Linked DNA regions of Homo sapiens: region 2 is linked to region 1. Evidence: promoter capture Hi-C in 16 types of primary human blood cells and fetal thymus (Javierre and others, 2016). All regions are on one chromosome and are shown on one strand. The core of a region is centred on a gene start or on the middle of the fragment in contact, and the rest is flanking DNA. Distances in the headings are between cores, read along the strand shown. Region 1 holds the start of DPY19L4 (dpy-19 like 4). Region 2 has its middle 13 kb from the start of LINC01298.

Region 1 (2,772 bases), core at 193-2,692:
ATCAGTAAACACTTCTTATGCTTAATTTTTAAAAATTGCTTTCCGCTGAATCCTTTAAACTCCTTCCTTGCACTCTTGATTCAGAAAGGCTTGAGTCGGCTGGACCCGTGGCTCACGCCTGTAATCCCAGCACTCTGGGAGGCCGAGGTGGGCGGATCACCTGAGGTCAGAAGTTCAAGACCAGCCTGACCAACATGGAGAAACCCCGTCTCTACTCAAAATATAACATTAACCGGGCGTGATGGCGCATGCCTGTAATCCCAGCTACTAGGGAGGCTGAGGCAGGAGAATCGCTTGAATCCAGGAAGCGGAGGTTGCGGTGAACCGAGATCGCGCCTTTGCACTCTAGACTGGGCAACAAGAACGAAACTCCGTTTCAAAAAAAAAAAAGGCAGGGGGGCTTGAGTCTAAATTAGATCGATTTACTATCACATCCACAGCTCCACTCATAAGGTAAAAAGTTGTGTTTTCCACCAGAATGCAAAAATCTAATTGCTTCTCACTTCCTGAAACTAGTAGGGGTTATCATGAAGTTACTATGCCATGAGTATTCCTTGTATTGTTTATCACTAACCGATAAGTTTCATCTAACTTCCCATTTTTGTCTCATACTTATCATTTTCTATAAATAAAATACTGCTGAATGAATTACTTATCTTAGCATTGATCCTGAAGGCGGCATGGAAACCTTTCTCCAGCTCACCCACTTTGACCCTCAAAGGCCTCCTGGCCTCATCATCTCCCAAAACTATAATAATTAGATGGCTCTGCTCTTTACCATTTTCCCCTGAACCTAAGTGAACTTGGCTTTCTTCAGTTTCTGCGTGTTCGCCCATTCCCAATTAATCTTGCCACGTTTATCCCAAATCCCTGCCTCTTTATCCCCGTGGTGAATGTTCCCTCGCCCCCTGTGCCTCTGGGTTTGTCAATATCCACAGCCCTTTAAAAATCGCATTCCAAATATGCACTGAGTACCTAAACCTGATCTTCGAAACCAAACTGCGCCTCCCACTTCACCAAGAATCTGATCAGGACCCTCCCTCTTTCCCAACCACTCCCGGCACAGCTTTCTCTCTTGCTACGGATTCCCAACTTTCAGCTCCACCTTTGCTTCCCAATTCGGCCGACAAAACTTCGGGCCATTTGCTCCGCTCTCCTGAATTTCTCCGCAGTCCTCTCCTGGGCGCCGCGCTCCTTCCCGCCCTGCCCGCGCGGCCGCCACCGCGACCGCGGCCACCAGCAGCTCCAACCCAGACCTCCAGCGCCCCCGCCCCTCCTTCCCGAGACCACTGGCAGCCGTTGGCGCGCTGGACCCCGCGGCAATCACCTTCTTCCTCCGCCATCGTTTCTGCGAAGGCTAGGGCGCCCTGCGGCTCCCGCGCGGCCCAGACTCTCCCTCCCTCCGCGTCGCCGAACCCCTCGGCCTCCGGGGGCCCGCTCCTGGCCGCCGCGCCCCCACTTCCTGACCCACCCCCCTCCGGTGTCGCCGCCAACCGCGTCCCCGCAGGCGGCCCGGGAACCAGAGTGTTGGGAGAGGGGAGCGGCCGGAGCGTTTCGCTGGGGCGCCGGGGCCTGCGCGGGCAGGAAGGAGACTCCACGCCGGGAGTGCAGCCCACAGCTGTAGCTCCTGGCCGCCGCCTGCCCTGGAAAGCGAGACTGGTGGGTCTCGCTGCAGCCCCGCCCCTCGTCCTACTCTTCCCAAAAAGTGAGGGCATGCTTTCCGCCACTTTTGTGACTCCGCGACTTAGCGAGTCAGAGACGATCATCAGCGACACCTCCCAGGTCCAGCCTCCATTCCCGCCCCATTTTACATGGAGGAAACTCAGATCTAATGTGGTGGAAGTCACAAAGCCGGTCAGAGGCAGAAGTGGAACCCGGTGCTCCAGAACTGCCATCGCTGCCTGCGTTCTCGCTGGGATTTCAGAGTGCAGCAGCAAAACGTTCTCAGTTGGCGCTTTGGTTTCGTAGGCCACTTGACCATTACAAGAAAGAAGCTTGTGCTTGGAACTTGTTTTAAATCACCAAAACTGGTTTAGCAAATATGTTGCATTTCATGATATTCTGGGGGGGGGGGCGGGGAGATAATACAATGGTCTGGGGTAGAGCAGTGTGCAATTAGATATTACAGAGCAATAGGGAATAATTTTAATTTGTTAAACTGTGTTTAACTTTCATTATATCTAGCATTCTTCAACAAACACCGGGATCTTTTCCCCAACAGTACTCAGAAGTAAATTTAGTAAATGAAATATACCCATTTTAGATCGGGAGAAACAGGCACGAGAATTCACTGAAGTCATGGGGTAATTATGGACACCCCATTATTAGCAGGCAGCAAGATTCTCCTAATAGCACCTTTAAGTTAGGATATTTGGGGAGAGGCTATCATTTTTCAGTGATGTGCAGAAACGGTTCCAGGAACTTTTTTTTTTTTTTTTTGAGACAGAGTCTCGCTCTGTCGCCCAGGCTGGAATGCAATGACTCGATCTAGGTTCACTGCAACCTCCGCCTCCCAGGTTAAAGCGATTTTCGTGCCTCGGCCTTCCCAGTAGCTGGGACTACAGGCGCAAGCCACCACTTAATTTTCATATTTTTAGTAGAGATGGGATTTCACCATGTTGGTTGGCCAGGCTAGTCTCCAACTCCTGGCCTCAAGTGATCCGCCCACCTTGGCCCCCCGAAGTGCTGGGTTTACAGGTGCCCACCACCACGCCCGGATAATTTTTTGTACTTTTAGTAGAGAAGTGGAGGGGTGTGGTTTCACCATGTTGC
Region 2 (2,772 bases), core at 163-2,662, 510 kb before region 1:
CCTCTTTCACCTCCTTTTTCCTCAACCAAGACAAACCACTCCTGTCCAGTCTATCAGGGCCTCCCCACTGAAACCAGGTACCCCAGCTGAAAAACAAACCAGTAAATAAATGTCCTCCCCCACAGCTGGGAAGAGCTGCTAATGGCTTCTAGTGGTTCTGTACTCTCAAGGATGTTCTTTTATTAATTTAATTTTTGAAAAGCCAATACATGCATATGGCTCAAAATTCAAACACTATAAAAATTCCCATTCCTGTGCCTGCCTCATTGCATCGGGGCAATTCCCATCCCAACTCTCAGTAACTGTCTTTTATTAGTTTCTTGTGTATCGTTTCAGTGTTTCTTTATACTCATATAACCAAATACAGACATATTTACAGAGAATTCTTAAGTGTTCTCAGAACCATAAGCCAAAGGAATCTTGCTAACAATAGAACTTCAGGCACTTTGTAAATTTTATTGAGCAACAAGTCTTTCCCAGGGCCCCTTTTGTCACACCGTATAAGTGGCTACTTTCTTGTAGTTGGAGTTCCTTGCTCTGAAGAAAATTGGTTCCAACAGGACTTTGTAACAATGTCATCACCCAGAGAGAACCACAATCTGCATCTCATTTCCAGGTATGAAAGGGTGAAGGGGTGGTGTTGGAGAAGTCCTGAGACCCCTCTCTTTATTATTCATTCCTTTGTTGAATACTCCTAGGCACCAGGCATTGAGCCAGGTCCTGGAGACACAAATACAGCCCCTGTGCTCATGGCAGAAGGAAGACAACATAGGTCGAGGAGACTGTTCAGTTGTGACTCACCAGATCCAACTCAGGCAGGTCTATATTTAAAAAGAGAATTGATTGACTCCTGTAGCTGAAATGTACAAGGATAGATTTGACTTTAGGGACAGCTTGATTTAGAGCTTAAATGATGTCACTAGGAGCCATCTGGCTGTGCACCCTCTGGGCTGGTTCAATTCTCAGGCTACTCATGGTGGCCCAGGCAGCTTCAGCCTCACATCACCACTGTAGACCATGGAAGTAAGTCAGGATCTCAAGAATTCAAACCAAAATTCAGGGACCAAGTGTCCTTAGCCCTGATTGGCTTATTTAGATCACCTGCCTATTTCTGAACCAATCACTGAAGCCAAGGGGCATGGATTCTCCTGATTGGTCTAGCCTTGGTCACATGGCCCACTCTTGGCTCCTAGGAGTCGGGTCAACTTTACCCAACGCACACAGGTTGACAGTGGAGGAGGTGTGGTACCTCAAAATAAAACCAGGGTACTATAGCCACACACCAAATAAAGAGAGAGGCTGCCAGGCCACAAAAATAGGTGCTGTCCCCCGCACCCATGTAATTACAAGTGAAGTGAATGTTTCAGAAGGGGAACTGCAAGGTGCCCTGGGAGGCCTGACCTGGGATGAGGCATTGGGAGTTTTCCCTGAGGAAGGAGCGGGCATCACCAAGTGAAGGTTGTTGGTTTATTCTTGGACAAGGTGACTCCAGCTGTCATGGGAAGGCCCAGAGGCAGGAGGAAACAGAGTCCTTCCAAGGAACTTAGAGCTTCACTGTGACTGGAGCTCGGAGAGCAGGGAATGGGGAGTGATGGAGTAATAGAGAGCAGAGGAAGTGACACAGGCGAGGTGGGAAGCCTGGATGCCCTGCGCCTTTCATCCCCACCACCTTTAACCCCAGCCAGGTTCCACTGCCGAGCTCCACACATAACGGGTTCCCCTGTGGGCTGCGTGTTCAGGCCTGTCTTCAGGCACCGTAGCTGGAAGCCAAGTGAAGATCAAATCTGACCAGGCCGTGTCTCTGCGTCTCTGCTTAAAATATGAACGAAGTTCCAGGTTCTCAGCATGGCCATCAATGCCCTGCCCACACTCCAGCCTCCTATCTCCCTGCCTTATCTTCTCCCTGCTCTGCAGGCCCCACGCCCCAAGGCCTCCTAGTGTTGCTCATCACTAAAGCCACAATTACTAAGGACATCCTCGGGAAGAAAGAGGGCTGAGGGGAGCTGGACTCTAGCCACAGGGTGCATGTTTCTTCTTAACAGAGCAGGTGGAAGAAGGCTGGCCAGGGGACGTGGGCCAGGTGTGGACATCAGCTGTGGGCCTGTTCTTAGGACTCGGTCTCAGGCACAGCATCAGGCCTCCTGGCTCATCTCAATGTACTCACAGAGGCCCCCTTGCCACTGGATGCCCATCATGGGAGCTGAGATCAGGGCAAGGGCTTTCACAGGGCAGAGATCACGGGCCAGAGAAGCCTGTGCTCTGTCTCTAGGCTCAGAAATCTGCCAAATGCTGATCCAGACTCAAACTTGGGACTCCTGGGGAAATTTTTCTTGACTTATTTGGAAGGATCCATGAGAAATGCAACTCCAGCAGAGTCACATATATAAGAAGGTGAAAAAAGCAAGACGAGAGGCTCAGAATTACATTTACTACCTAGTACCTCACCTTAGATTCTGGGCAGAACTTTCTCCCACTTCCTCTCTATGGTTTCTGATCTCTTTCTGACTTATTTTTAAGCTGCCCAGTTTACATATGTGGTTTTTTTTGTCTTGTTTCATTTTTTGAGATGGGGTCTCGCTCTGCCGCCCAGGCTGGAGTGCAGTGGTGCAATCTTGGCTTACTGCAACCTCTGCCTCCAGGGTTCAGGTAATTCTCCTGCCTCAGCCTCCCAAGTAGCTGGGATTACAGGCACCCACCACCACGCCCAGCTAGTTTTTGTATTTTTTTAGTAGAGACGGGATTTCACCATGTTGGCCAGGCTGGTCATGAACC

What was found. The method cuts DNA at HindIII sites, captures the fragments that hold promoters and counts their contacts. A CHiCAGO score of 5 or more calls a contact.
Region 2: a contact is called between a fragment that was not itself captured here and the fragment with the promoter of DPY19L4 in region 1, in 1 of 17 cell types (monocytes). The highest score is 6.7, in monocytes.

What each region holds. Positions count from the first base shown.
Region 1 is chr8:94,718,570-94,721,341 of GRCh38, reverse strand. DPY19L4 (dpy-19 like 4) reads right to left here and starts at 1,442. Exons shown (of 19, transcript NM_181787.3): 1 at 1,328-1,442. The coding sequence starts at 1,343. RefSeq lists a silencer at 1,315-1,634 and an enhancer at 1,395-2,349. The HindIII fragment of the contact is 11,065 bases long and covers 1-1,996 here.
Region 2 is chr8:95,228,154-95,230,925 of GRCh38, reverse strand. No RefSeq gene overlaps it. Among named protein-coding and RNA genes, the nearest start is that of LINC01298, 13 kb to the right of the region's middle. RefSeq lists enhancers at 2,004-2,123, 2,244-2,383. The HindIII fragment of the contact is 3,646 bases long and covers 1-2,772 here.